Linked DNA regions of Homo sapiens: regions 2, 3, 4 and 5 are each linked to region 1. The links are contacts of gene promoters, found by promoter capture Hi-C in blood cells and fetal thymus (Javierre and others, 2016). All regions are on one chromosome and are shown on one strand. The core of a region is centred on a gene start or on the middle of the fragment in contact, and the rest is flanking DNA. Distances in the headings are between cores, read along the strand shown. Region 1 holds the start of GSG1L (GSG1 like). Region 2 overlaps KATNIP (katanin interacting protein). Region 3 overlaps KATNIP (katanin interacting protein). Region 4 overlaps KATNIP (katanin interacting protein). Region 5 overlaps SBK1 (SH3 domain binding kinase 1).

Region 1 (2,754 bases), core at 88-2,587:
CTCCTGGACTCCTCGACCCGGAGTTTGCCCAGCTGTCCCCAGTTCCCTAGCCTGCCTCTCCCAGGAGGGGGCCAGGATACAGAGGGCTCCCTGGCGTCTGGCAATAGGGGTGCCTCTGGGCGGGTGCGGCTTTCCGGGAGCCCGCGGGACTCCCCCACTCCCCACTCCCGTCTGGGAGGTTCGGCGTGGGTTGGCGATGGGGGTGGAAGGCTCCCGGGTCTGTGGATCTGCGGCAGGAGGGGCGGCTGGTAGCAGGAGTCCCTGCATCACCCCCACCCCCAGGGGCGTTCCGGGGTGGGTGGGGGCATCTAGTGCCCCGCGAAAGGAAGAGGAGGAGGGGGCGAGCGTGGAGATGAGTTCAGGAGCGGAAAGCAGCGCGCGCCCCTCCGACCGGCAGCGGGGGTGGGCGCCTTCCCGGGGCGCGGGAGCGTCCCCAAAGCCGCGGGGCGTCCGCAGCGGGTAGGAGCTCTGCCTTGCACCTCTCCACGGCGGGGCGTCCCGCACGTCCCCCCATGCTGGTCCCCGGCCCCGGAACGGCGCGCGCCCCCTGCCCCGGAACGTCGCCCCTAGCCAGGCGGAGCGCTGGGAGCTGGGCCCAGGCGGCGGGAGGAGGGCGAACGGGTCCGGGGCTCGGGCCTCGATGGCCGCGCCGCCCCGGGGGAGCCGGAGCCGAGCTGGCCGCCGCCCGCGCGCACTCACCAAGCCCGCTGAGCTCCTCCTCGCACGAGTACCAGATGCCGGTGTGGAAATTCCTGAAGAGGAAGCGGTCGTCGCCGGTCTCCCAGCTGTAGAGCGCGCCGCCAGGGGGGCCGTTCCCCGAGGCGGTGGCGGCGGCGGCGGCGGCGGCGGGGGCGGCGGTGCCGTTGGCCGTGGCGTTGGCGCCCGAGTTGGGGCAGTTGGCGCGCCCGCCCTGGCCGCAGCCCGGCTTGGGGACCCGCTGCGTGCCCTGGCACCAGTGCGTGGTGAGGAAAGCGGTGGTGGCGAACAGCAGCGCCAGCAGGTTCAGGGCCACGGCCAGGAGCGCTCGGCCGCGGCGGCTAGTCTTCATGCCGCCCGCGCCGCCGGGACGGGACTGCACCGCCGGGGAGCTCCGCGCGCGAAGTTGGCAGCTGGCGCCCCGCGTCAGCGGCCGCTGCCCGCCGCGCCCCGGGGCTCGGGTGCCTGAGATCGGCGGCGGCGGACGCGGCGCGGGCCCATGCCCCCCCCAACCCCGGGGTGGGGGCGCGGCGCGGGGGGCGTGCGGGGCGGGCTGGCGGGGCGGGCGGCGGTGGAGGAGCGGCTACGGCGCGCCCGGAGCCCGGAGCGCGAGTGCACCTCGGCTAGGAGCCGCTGGCGCCTGGCAGCGGCCACGGCGCAGGGACGCGCGCCCCTCCGTGGGGAGACACCTGCAGGCGGCCGGCGACACTGTTCCGGAGCCCGCCCGCACGGGGAGAGGGGGCCGCCACGCCGGGCGCGGGCGGGGGCCTGGGAGTGGAGGGACGCCCCCGAAAGAAATCCGAGCCAGGGTGAGGGTCTGAGACGCAAGGAGAATCCCAGGCAAGGCGCTCCTGAGAAAAGATCCCCACGGCGGACGTGGGGCAACAAAACCCGCCGGGAGCGGGCATCTCATGAGACCCAGAGAGGCCCTGCCCCAGGAGACAAGGGCAGAGCCTGCTGGGGCTCCCCAAGAGGGACACGGACCAGCAGGACCCTGTCCCAGAAGGGGATCCCCAAAAGGACCCCCGCACCAGACCCTGAGAAAGGAGTTTTTCCAAAGGTTCTAAACAGCAGAGCCTGCAGGGCTTCCCACAGCCAGGGAGCTGCAAGACCCCCTGGATAAGACAACCCATGCTGGACTTGGAGTGGCAGAATCTGTCAGGAGGCGCCCCTCCTGGAGTATTGGGTTATAGGGTTTGAAACGTTTTTCTGTCTCCTGGGTGTCACCTCCAGCATCTGGGAAGAGCTCCCCTCCAAGGATGAAACTGTCATCTGGGCTCCCAACCATGGCATGCAACTGCAGGAAGAGTGGCAACAGGGTACCCCAGACAGCCCACTGCACCCACCTGAGATCCCAAACAGCAGAACCCTAGGAGGGCCCATGCCGGCCACAAAGTTATTGCAGCTACCAGGCAGTGGTGCCCTACAGGGGCTGCCAACCCTGCTCACATGCACACCATGTGAATGTGGGTAGAATCTTCAAGATTCGGGTGGGGGCAGGGTGGCCAAACATACTGACTTTGGGATCAAGCATATCTAGGGCTTGACCAGCTGTGTGGCTTTGAACAGGTCACTTACCCTCTCTGAGCCTCAATTTCCATAACTATAAAAAAGGGAGGACCCCCCCCCCTTCAAGGTATATCACAGTGGGCTGCTGTAATGAGATCATGGCTGCAAAAAGCATTTGGCACACAGTAGACTCAATTAATAATTCACTGTTACTGACATCTGAACCAAGATCAGTTGACCAAACTCAGACAAACCTCTTCAGGCTCTCCTGTGCAACGTGGAAACTGTGTGCAACCCCGTCCCCACCTCTGCTCTAAGATGACCACGCTCCCTGAACTCCCTTCGCGCTGCACAGCACTTACTGCCCAGATGCTCAGGGCGTGCAACAATTAATTGCATGTTGATTATAAGAGCTCATTTGAATTCTGCCCAAGCTGAGAACTGCTCCGACAACCCCCGGCTTGCCGAGTGGCAGGCCTTGCAGAATTCAAGGTTAACCGATTATGAATTGCCTTACTCCTGTGGGTGAGCCGGCACCCACTGTCAGCT
Region 2 (2,754 bases), core at 187-2,686, 460 kb before region 1:
GTACACCAGAAACTGCTCCTCTGGATGCTTCGAAGATTCCTCAAGGCAAGGCAATGACCTTGCAAGGGCAGTCAACACACGGGCAATGACCTTGAGAAGCAGCCAGAAGAGCTGAGTGGCTATTGAGATGGGGGTGGGGAAGGTGGGAATGAGGTCAGGAGAGTGGTGAGAGCAGATTGCATTCATGCGCCAGGCCACACTCAGACCTGCTCTCCCTCCAGCCTTTGCTCCATGAATGGTGCCCCGTCCCTCCAATGATGCAGGCCAGAAACCCTGGAATCATCCTTATAGACCCTCTCCCTTGTCTCTTCTTTCCAGCCTGTCACCAAGTCCTGTGCCTTCACCTTGGAAGCCTCTCTTCCCTGACCCTCCACGTGGCTGAGTCCTCTCATCTAAGCACCTGCGGTAGCCTCTCACCTGCAGCCTGGCACCCATTCTCCACCACCCAACCCCTTTCTTACTCCAACTTCCGCTGTCCGCTCCAGGAGCACCATGTGGCTTCCCAGTGGTCTGGAGTCTCAGGGCAGAACTCCTGCCGTGGGCACGCGGTGTTTGTGGTCCATCCGCCTCAGTCCCGTGTCAGTCTCTGTCCCACGTGCCTGCCTTGTCCCTTCTGCTCTGTGCTCATGTGCGTCTGCTGCCTTAGCACGCCTCCACTTTGCTTTGAGCACTCTCCCCTCTCCTCCACAATTAACCCATTCATCCTTCAGGTTTTGGTTCTGTTATCCTCTGCAGCGAAGCTTCACCTGCCCCCTTTTAAAGCCACTCATCGCCCCCGCCTCCCCCACCTTCCGAGCACTGACGTCATACATTTGGTAGGTCATTTGATTAAAATCTGTCTTCCTCACTAGACCACCAGCTCCATGAGGCTGGGGACATGCCCTGGCATGGATTAGGAGGTGTTTAGTAAATCTGGAAGAAGGTAGGAAAGAAGTGGGGTGAGGAGGGAGGAGGGAAAGGAACGCAGTCCCACATGGTCGGGGAGGGGACCAGGGTCAGAGAGAATGAGCATTTGCTGTCGCCTTTAAATTCCTAGATGAACATTGTCTCACATGGCAAAATCTTGACTGCAGTATGTGAGAGTTAATCCAGTTTGAGGCCCATGAACCCCACTGCACTGCCCTACACTTGAGAATGATATTTCAGCACCTGCCGTTAGCACAAACAGGCTTTGCCCTTAAGCATACCTGGGATGTCAGAAGCAAAGACTCTCTAGCCGTCCCCTGGGATCAGCCAGCAGGCTTTGATCACTCTCCACCCCAGCCCAAGACAGGCTCCTGGAGTCTCCTGGCATCTGCTTTTACAAACACTCTTCCCTTCTGGCCCCTGCTCCGCCCTCCCCCATTCTCCTGGTGAGCTCTTTTACAATTCGGTGTCTTGTTTTCTCTTCTGCAAAGCCCACCCAGCCCCGCCAGTAATCCCAGGCCCCCTCCACTCCACCCACTGCCCTTGTGGCACAGCTGCCTCCTCTTTTTTTTTTTTTTTAGACGGAGTTTTAATCTTGTTTCCCAGGCAGGAGTGCAGTGGCGCAATCTCGGCTTACCACAACCTCCGCCTCCCAGATTCAAGCGATTCTCCTGCCTCAGCCTCCCGAGTACCTGGGATTACAGGCACACACCACCACGCCCAGCTAATTTTTTGTATTTTTTTAGTAGAGACAGGGTTTCACCATGTTGGCCAGGCTGGTCTCAAACTCCTGACCTCAGGTGATCCACCCGCCTCAGCCTCCCAAAGTGCTGGGATTACAGAAGTGAGCCACTGCACCCAACCTCAGTTGCCTCCTCTTGATAGCATCTGCCACACTGCACTGGAGCAATTGTTCCATTTCTATCTCTCTACTCCAAGTTCCTTGAGGCCAGGGATTTTTGTCTTCCTCCCTTTCCTTCTGTTCCTCCGTGTTCTTTCCTTTCTGCAAATCCTTTATAAGCTCCTTGTACATGCCAGGAACTGGGAGACACAGCAGTGAGCAAGCTCGCATTGTCCCTGCTCTCGTGGGTCTGGCGTCCTGATGGGGGAGGCCATGTGTAAATGAACAGAGATACTTTCAGAGAGTGAGAGGTGCTACTGGGTGAGGAGGCAGACAGGGACAGAGGTTGTTGGGAGAGGCCCCTGGAAGAGGGGATGCTGCTAAACAAGCTTACCCTAGAGCAAGGAGGGAAACATTGCAGGCAGGGGGAACAACAGAGGCAATGACCTTTATTTATTTACTTATTATAGAGACGGGGCAGGGGGAGTGGGGCGGGTGCTCTCGAGGTATTTCCCAGGCTGACCTCGAACTCCTGAGCTCGAGTGATCCTCCTGCTTTGGCCTCCCAAAGTTCTGGGATTACAAGCATGAGCCACTGCGCCCGGCCGGCAATGACCTTGAGAAAGAGCCAGAAGGACCATGTGGCTATTAGGATGAAGGTGGAAATGAGGTCAAGGAGGGTGGCGAGGCCAGATTACACTTGTCTGTCTATCTCTGGCCCTTGCCCGATGCCCAACCCATAGGAGAAGCACAAGGAATATGTGTAGGATCAATAGGAAGGGAGTGCCCTCCCCTCTTCAGGGGGCCGGCAGCAGCCCTGGGGTGTGGGGGAATGATCATCTACTCAGACAGCCCTGCCTGCTGGGCTGGTGGTGATAGATGCCCTGTGTTGGGAGGTCCATTTCATTAGAAGGAAAAGTTCTTGGATGGAAATCAGGTGGATGGAGGCAAAGATTGGCGGAGGGTGGCTGCCTCTCTCCTCCCATCAGGCCTGGTGGCCAGTCCTGC
Region 3 (2,754 bases), core at 167-2,666, 330 kb before region 1:
GTTTAAGACTAAGTGTGGAGAAAGTGATTTCAGAATTCTGTTTCAGGCACACCAGGCACATTGACTCACACCTGTAATCCCAGCACTTTGGGAGGCCAAGGCAGGAGGATCCCTTGAGCCCAGGGGCTCAAGACCAGCCTGGACAACATAGTGAGACCCCGTCTCTACAAAAAAAAATTTATTTTAATTAGCTGGTCGTGGTGACGTGTACCTGTAGTCCCAGCTATCCAGGATGCTGAGATGGGAGGGTCACTTGAGCCCAGAAATTCAGGTTGCAGTGAACCCTGATCGAGCCACTGTAACGCCAGCCTGGGCAACAGAGCAAGACCTTGTCTCTTAAAAAAAAAAGAGAGCATTCTGTTTTGGGCATTTTATATTGGAATTCCTGTTAGATATCCAGGAAGAGAGGCCAAGCAGTCACTTGGGGCTTGGTGGAGAGGTCAGGGTTGGAGATGAAAATAACTGGGAGCCTGGGACCTGAATGAGACCACCTGGAGAGCAAGGGAAGAGCACTCGGGAGGCCTAGGACTGAGCCCTGGGCAGCCTAGTCGTTCAAAGTGCAGCCGAAGAAAAGGAAGCAACCCAGGAGTCGGGCAGGCTCAGCCAGCGAGGCAGGAGGAAAGCCAGGTGGGTGCAGAGCCACACAAGCCCCAGGGAGGAAAGTCATCGCAAAGGAGGGGAAGCTGCCGAGTACTGCCGAGCCGCCACACCCACCCACTCCTAGGAGAAATTCCTATTGCGTATGGCAGTCAGCTGGACCCTGTAATTTACTTTAGGAACCAGACACTTCTGAGAGTCATTAGTAATGACACCAGGATAACAGATATAAATCAGAATTGTCCCAGACAAACTAGGATGGCCCGTCACCCTAGTTACAGGTGCCCGGGCCAGGTGGGTTCCATGTGGAGGTGGAGGCAGAAGCCCAACGGGAGGAGGAACAAGGGGTAGTGGGAGGAGGAGCCCACGGGGACAGTGACACTCAGAGATTCACTGACGGGGTGACGGACAGATCATGCGGGGGGCCCTGCAATGGAATATTCCTTAGCAGTAGAAAGGAAAGGAACTATCAGTTCCCATAACACAGGTGAATCTCAGAGCAGTTATGGTGACTGAAAGAGCCGAGCAAAAAAGACTACATGCAACATGATTCCTTTATGTAAACATTCCAGAAAGGACGATCAGTATATAGGGAGGGACCATAAGTGGGTGGTTGCCTGGAGCCAGGGAAGGAGGAAGGGGAGACAGGGGTTACCAAGGGGCACGAGGAAACCTTAGGGTGATAGGTACGTTTGTTCTCTTGAGTGTGATGGCTTCATTGGCGTAGACACATGTTAAAACTGATCAAGCTGTACCCGTTAAATATGCACAGTTTATTGTATGGGGTGTGTATTCTATTCCCCGATAAAGCTGGAAAAAGAGTTTTGCTGTAAAGAGGATGACACAAGTGAAACAGTAGCAGGAGATGTGATTTTATCTTAAGCATGGAAGGAAGAGAGTTGAACCTGCGTGACATAGGGGCATTTAGGCTGGCAGTGAGAGAGGAGAGCGAGGTGGGGACCATTTGTGAAGGTTACTGTATGTCATGTGGAGAGCTTTGGAATTTATCCCATCATCGGCATGGTTCTGCACCCCGTCGTGTGAAGAAATCATCCGGAGAACTTGTTCTGAGTCCAGAAGTTACCTACAGGCTGCCTTGAGGCAGTGGTCCTCACACGGCATCCTCCTGGCTCCCTTCCAACTGCAGCTGCCGTGAACATGGGACAGTCCCCGCATGTGGACAGTGCCCTGCCTCAGGTGCTCGTGGGGTGCTCTGCCGTGGGAGCACACTCAGCTCGTGCATGTGTTGGGGCATCAGTGCCCTGAGGGCAGCCTTCAACAAGCAGTGGATAAATGTCCCAGTCTTGGAGAGACATTTGCGACATGCATTTAAGCAGAAGACTCCCATGATCTGATTTCAGTTAAAAAAAAAAAAACTCACTGCTGCATAGAAAATGAAGTGTGAGTGCAGGGATTTGGAGGAGACAACGCAGAGTGGAAGCAGAGAGACCAATTAGGAGGCGGCAGTGGTGTCTCTGGTAGAGACCCTGGTGGCCTGGGCAAGGAAGGCAGCAGCACATTCCAGGTAAAGAGGTCAGACCCAGGAAGTGTTCTGGAGAGAGAGGCGAGGGACAGCTGGCGGATTGGATGGGCAAGTGAGAAAGAGAGGGATCAAGGGGGCCACGAGGTTTTTGGCCACTGCTTCAATGATGGAGCCATTTTTAAGATAGGTGAAGACTAGGGTTGGGGAAAGTGAGATCTTGGAGTGCCGCAGAGGGCCCCCGTGGGAAGGAGCACCAGTTGGCCACAGCAGTGACCAGCTCAAAAAAACTGGGTTTTTCCTTTTTCCTGCCCTATCTTGCTTTCCCCATTTCCTCTTGGAATCACCTGCCAAATACTCGACTTGCACCCGAGTCCTTGTCTCAGCCTCTGCTTTTACGGTCTCCCAATTATGATGCCCACGGAGGCCAGGAAAGCTGTTTTATAAGCACTCCAGGCTTTTCGACGCAGATGGTCTCAGGAACTGGACTTTAAAGAACACTGCTATAGGCTGTGAAAAAACATGAAGGATTTCACACAGGGGAATGACTGGACAGATTTGCTCTGGTAGGAAATGAACTCTGGTGGCAATGTGAAGTCCAAGTTAAAGTAGCAAGAGACAGGAAGCAGGGAGACCCATTAGTAGGCTATTACGAATGTCCCGACAGGAGGTAATGA
Region 4 (2,754 bases), core at 111-2,610, 300 kb before region 1:
GAATGCAAGCTTCTTGAGTTCAGAGATTGTGCTCTGTTGTTCATTCCTGCAGCTCTTATGCCAAAAATAGGTTCTGGTACACAGTAGATGACCAATAAATATTCGTTGACTGTTGACTGTGAAGTTGGTAAAACCCAATAGTTTTCGTTTGTCTCATTTACTTGCAGATATCTACTGAAGCCCTACTTGTTAATTAGTCATGTGTTTAAAATTTTTACTAAAAACATTCATTGAACATCTACTAAGCACTGTTCTGGGCTCCGGGGATACAGCAGTGAACAAAACCAGCAGAGTCCTGGCCTCAGGGAACTTCCGTCTTAGTGGGGGAGACTGATGGAGACAAATAAGCAAATCAATGTAGACTCGATTGTCAGGAAGCATTCAGTGCTATAAACAACAAGGCGAGCAGGGTAAGGATGTAGAGAGTGATGGGGTGAGCAGGGCTGTTTGAGCTCTGGTTATTAGGGAAGGCCTCTCAGGAAATGACATTGGAACACTGACTCATGCTGAGAAGGAATGTGTCAGCTAGCTTTTGCTGCCGAACAAGCCAATCCAAAATCCACTGGCTTAACACAACTACCATGAATTATATTCATGACTGACTGGTAATTCAGTATCTTGGCTGGGCAGCTCTGGGTGAGCCAGCTTGGTTGGCCTCTACTGGGCCTGCTCGAGTTCCTGATCAGCAGGGAGGTGGACCAGCAGCTGAATGACCTAGGACATCTTCACCCACCCGTCTGGCAGTGGGGAGGCTGCTGGCCAGAGAGACAGGTGTCTGGGTTAGCTGGGCTGCCTCGCATGGCAGTCTCAAGCCCCGAGTGCTTTACAGGCTCTGCTTGCCTCACGTGGGCTTCTGTCCCAGTGTTCAAAGCAAATCACGTGACCCAGAGTCAGGAGCAGAGAAGGAAACTCCAACTCTGGATGGGATGAGGGGCAAAATCACATTGCAACAGCAGGGACACGGGATGGGACGAGCTTGTAGCCACTTTGCACGTGAATGATGCGGCGAGAAGCCCATGTGCAGGGTGCCGTGCTGGCCACATGTTTTTTTCATCTGCCCCAGAGATGCTCAGAGTTACCTTGGCACCACGAAGGAGGAAAAGGATCTGAGGGCTAAGTTACAAAAAGTATGTTGGGAGATGTCAGGGGCGTGGGAGAGAAAACCAAGCTCCAGGGAGGTCAGGTGACCCAGCCCCTCTTCATGGCCACAAAGAAGTCCTTTCACCTCTCTGGGCTTCCAGTTCCTCATCTGAGCTGCAAGGGGGTGGTGCCAGATGACACCCTGCTTCCTTCTGCCTGCTCTGTGGTGCTGGCATTTCTGTGAACGCTGCAAAGAGTGAGTCTTACACTTAGCTACCCAAAAGGGTGCTAAAATATGCGGCAAATTCTCTAAGGGCAGAAGGGTTTATTGTGTTTGGTCTTGCTCTAATGAGACACCGTTAAGGAAAGAGACGTTCCAGCCAATTATCTGACAGGGCTTGATCAAGAGATTCATTCCATTTGAGTTTCCTGGGCAAATGAATGACATCTGGGCTGTTTTGCCCCAGGGCCACAGAAGGTCACTTCTAAATGGTCTCTGATCGAGAGAGGATGGGAGCAGAGGCAAAAGGATGGCGGTATCACCCTAGGTCACTTCCTTTACTCTGAGCCCACGTGAATGTTTGTGATAGCAGCCAATTTGCATAAAATGTCAGTTTCCAGCGCTGGGGCTTACTGATACAAGTCTCCATGTAGTTGCTGGTTTAATCATTCCATCTGTACTGAGCTCCTACTGTGTGCCAGGCACCATGCCAGGCTCAGGACACAGTGGTTTAGAGAAACAGATGGGGTTTCTCCCTCAAGGAGTTAGGCATCTGGCGGGGCAAGTGGGTATTTACCAAGATCACGCGATTACAGCAGTGACCAGGGCTTGGAAAGGGAAGTGTACAGTGGCATGGCAGGTTATCAATGGAGGTTTGACCTGGTCAAAGAACTCAGGAGGGCTTCTCTGAGGAAGGGAGCTGGGATCTGAAGGGTGCTCACAAGTCAACCAGGCCATGTGAATTCTAGGGAGGGGTGACAGCACATTCAAAGGCCCTGTGGTTGGAGAGAGAGGAATATAAATACGAGAAACTGAAAGACAGCCTGGGTGGGGCCTAGGGTCCCTGGTGCACAGTGAGGTCAGAGAAGTAGATAGAAGTCTGATGGGGAATGCGTTGTTGGCCAGAAAGCATGGGAAGCCACCAAGGATGTTCAGTGTCGGGTGGGACAGCACAATCTGGTAGGCGGAGGAAGGACTCAGGGCTATGTGCAGGTTTAACCCTCGCCCATGCAGCTTACCGTTGTTTCCTGAGCACTGACAGTGGCCTGGGCCCAAGGCCACCTAGAGGAAAGCCACAGAGCCCACCTGCAAGGCACTTTGGGTCTGGGTTGAAGTTGCTAGAATATAGAGGCCGAATAGCATTCCTCTTCCTGTCTTCATTTTAGATGCCTCCTCTGGAGCCTCTGGTGCTAATGGGCCACTTCTCTTCCTGTTGCAGGCCTTCAGCTGAATTTCACTGCCTCCTGGGGAGACTTGCACTACCTGGGGCTCACTGGCCTGGAAGTGGTGGGCAAGGAGGGCCAGGCGCTGCCCATCCACCTGCACCAGATCTCTGCTTCCCCCAGAGACTTAAATGAGCTCCCCGAGTACTCTGACGACTCCCGGGCCCTGGACAAGTAAGTGTCTATCAGAAGCTTTACTTTCATGCCCACTGGGTTTTGGGGACATTGTTC
Region 5 (2,754 bases), core at 88-2,587, 260 kb after region 1:
TGCGGGACAGGCCCCGAGAAGCTAGTGACTCCTGCACACCCCCATTGCACAAATGAAATCACAGCCCAGGAGGGAGGGTAGCTTGGCACTGGCTGAGAAATAGAGCTCTCTCCCCGCCCCTCCCCCTAACCACAAGGGATTGTCCTGACAACTTGTGGGGATAGAAGGGCTCACAGGGCAGGGGTCTCAGCTGCCCCCATCCTTAGGGCAGGGGAGTTAGTGTGGAGCCGAGAGCAGGTCCCAGCTCCCCCTGCCAGCCGCACTGTCCCAGGCCCAGGGACCTCTGCCGGGTCCTCCCAGCCCTTGCCACACAGCCTAGACGTAGTAGCCTGGGCTTCCAGCAGGTGGCGAGCTGGTTCGTGCTGGAAATTTCTCCTGGGTTTCTTGGGGTCAAACATGCCAACCTCCAAGACCCCATCCTCACGTCTCCCACTTTTCTGGCGCTGGAGTGTGCAGGGCGTAGGACCTGCATGTGTGGGTGTGAGAATGGGGGCGGTGGACACCAGGGGGCGAGTGTGTGACTAGGTGTGTGTGCACATGTGTAGGGTGCAGACGCATGGGTGCCATCCTTTGCGTTCAGTGACTGTGCGTCCAGACCCCTCACCAGCGGCCCCCCCACCACACCCTGGTCCTCCCAGGCAGCTGTCCCAGGGCGCCCAGGCCTGCCTTGCACCACAGCCCTCAGGAAATCCGGCAAGGAGGCCCCTGCAGGTTGGTTCAGGCCCCCAGGTAGCAAAACAGAGACAACAGCAGCCCCGCCTGACCCCCTGCCCCTCTCTGTGGAGGCCCGGGACCCCCGCAATAAGCACCACATGGGTGAGGCTGTCCCTGTCAGGGTCCCCTGCCAGGGTCCCTCCTGGGGTTCTGGGCCATTTGAGGGGCTCTTTGATGGGCCAGGCCGGCCAGAGTGAACTCCGAGCACTTTCTGGCTGGTGCCCCAACCTCTCCACTCCCCACTCATTCCCACCTTGAAAAAGGGCTATAGGTCCCCTGCCCTGCCCGGGTCCAGTTTACAAACAGTGTGGGGTGGCCCCAGGGCCTGGCCCCACTCTCCCTGCTGTGCCCACTCCTCTCCAGACTCCACCTCCCCAGTGGGTATGGGCCCTCCACATGCCAGGTAAGTAGCAAACCCCCACTCCCTCCAAGGACCAGGTCTCAGAGAAGGCCCTGGTCACTGCCCCCGGCCCACCTGGAGCCCATCGGGGCTGCCTCTCCCAGCCGCGACTTCTCCTTTTGCCTTAGGCCTCGCGACATCCTGATCTCTCCTGCAATAACTAGGAATCGAGATTCCACAGTAGACGTCCCTTGCCGTGCTCGCTCTCTCTCTCGCGCGCGCTCTCTCTCTCCCTCTCTCTCTCTCTCTCTCTCTCTCTCTCTCTCTCTCTCTCTCTCTCTCCTCTCTTTCTCTCTCTCCCTCTCTCTGTTAAGATCCTGTTCGGGAGTTTCCCCAGCCGTTGTAGTATCTAGTATGTTAGAGTTGGGAGGGGACCATAGTTATGTAGCCCAGCCCCCTCATTCCCAGAGGCACCCAGAGGGCCAGCCTCCAGCCTGACCCCAGAGCAGAACCGGAACACCAGGTTGGGGCCCTGGTGCTGCCACCTCCTCTGCTGGTCGGGCTGGGACCCTTTGCCCCTTAGGAGAGGTGTTGGTCACAGATGTTTACCTCAGTTTATGTCACTGTCGAAGAAACAAAAAATAATAGCAAAAAATAACACTGTAGACATGAAGACTTAGAAGACAAAAAAAAAAAAATCACACAAAAAATCTCCCTTGTTGCGATTCTTCTGTGAAGGTACAGTGTGTATGTGTGTATGTGTGTATGTGTGTGCGTGTCTCTGTCCCAGACCCTGTGTCCCCCACACTGCCCCCTGTCCTTCGGTGCTTCCCAGAGACCCCTCTGAGCTGGCCTGTGGGGCACGGGAAGCCCCCTGGATGGGAGGCGGGGCCACAGGTCGGCTAGAGGGTCTCCACCAGGCCCACTGAACAGAACCCCACGGCTGCCAGAATGTTCCCTGAGCCCACACTGTGGCCAGTGGGACAGTCCTGGTGGCTGACATCAGCGTCCATGCTTGGCTCAGGGCCTGGGGCGGGGTCCTGGGTAGAGTCCTAGCCCCAGAGCCCCAGCCCCTCATGTCTTGCCGCCCTTCCTCCATGTGTTTGTAAATACTCTGGCATCCTTTGGCCCTGAGAAGGTTTTTAAATGTGTTATTTACTTCTCTAAACATGACGATTGCTATAAAAATAAACAAAAGTTTAGAAAAATGACCACTGGGTGGCTGTCTTTTCTCAAGTTTGGGGTGGAGAGGGCGGTGGGGGTGGGGGCACACAGGTACTCTAGAAACTGAAAACTTGGGCTGGGCGGAGCGGCTCACATCTATAATCCCAGCACTTTGGGAGGCCGAGGCGGGCGGATCACCTGAGGTCAGGAGTTCAAGACTAGCCTGGCCAACATGGTGAAACCCCCATCTCTACTAAAAATATAAAATTAGCTGGGCGCGATGGCGCACGCCTGTACTCCCAGCTACTTGGGAGGCTGAGGCAGAAGAATCGCTTGAACCCGGTAGGTGGAGGTTGTAGTGAGCTGAGATCGCGCCATTGTACTCCAGCCTGGACAACAAGAGCAAAGTTCCATCTCAAAAAAAAAAAGAAAACTTGACCTTGACATAGGCTCTAGGCCTCCTGTGACCTCTCAGAACTTGAGCATGAGGGGAACAGGACCCAGATTCTGGGACAAGGGGTAGGCAGTTGTCCCTT

What was found. Contacts are between HindIII fragments. The CHiCAGO score rates a contact against its expected background, and 5 or more counts as called.
Region 2: a contact is called between a fragment that was not itself captured here and the fragment with the promoter of GSG1L in region 1, in 7 of 17 cell types (M1 macrophages, M0 macrophages, megakaryocytes and 4 more). The highest score is 19.0, in M1 macrophages.
Region 3: a contact is called between a fragment that was not itself captured here and the fragment with the promoter of GSG1L in region 1, in 1 of 17 cell types (megakaryocytes). The highest score is 5.3, in megakaryocytes.
Region 4: a contact is called between a fragment that was not itself captured here and the fragment with the promoter of GSG1L in region 1, in 2 of 17 cell types (megakaryocytes and endothelial precursors). The highest score is 6.2, in megakaryocytes.
Region 5: a contact is called between a fragment that was not itself captured here and the fragment with the promoter of GSG1L in region 1, in 1 of 17 cell types (neutrophils). The highest score is 5.2, in neutrophils.

The regions. Positions count from the first base shown.
Region 1 is chr16:28,062,377-28,065,130 of GRCh38, forward strand. GSG1L (GSG1 like) reads right to left here and starts at 1,338. Exons shown (of 7, transcript NM_001109763.2): 1 at 700-1,338. The coding sequence starts at 1,048. The HindIII fragment of the contact is 8,058 bases long and covers 1-2,754 here.
Region 2 is chr16:27,599,263-27,602,016 of GRCh38, forward strand. All of the region lies in intron 2 of KATNIP (katanin interacting protein), which reads left to right. Among named protein-coding and RNA genes, the nearest start is that of KATNIP, 50 kb to the left of the region's middle. The HindIII fragment of the contact is 1,396 bases long and covers 739-2,134 here.
Region 3 is chr16:27,737,047-27,739,800 of GRCh38, forward strand. All of the region lies in intron 14 of KATNIP (katanin interacting protein), which reads left to right. Among named protein-coding and RNA genes, the nearest start is that of KATNIP, 190 kb to the left of the region's middle. The HindIII fragment of the contact is 2,920 bases long and covers 1-2,754 here.
Region 4 is chr16:27,758,894-27,761,647 of GRCh38, forward strand. It overlaps KATNIP (katanin interacting protein), which reads left to right. Exons shown (of 28, transcript NM_015202.5): 19 at 2,520-2,697. Among named protein-coding and RNA genes, the nearest start is that of KATNIP, 210 kb to the left of the region's middle. RefSeq lists an enhancer at 1,113-1,172. The HindIII fragment of the contact is 2,706 bases long and covers 8-2,713 here.
Region 5 is chr16:28,321,585-28,324,338 of GRCh38, forward strand. It overlaps SBK1 (SH3 domain binding kinase 1), which reads left to right. Exons shown (of 4, transcript NM_001024401.3): 4 at 1-2,265. Among named protein-coding and RNA genes, the nearest start is that of SBK1, 30 kb to the left of the region's middle. The HindIII fragment of the contact is 8,524 bases long and covers 1-2,754 here.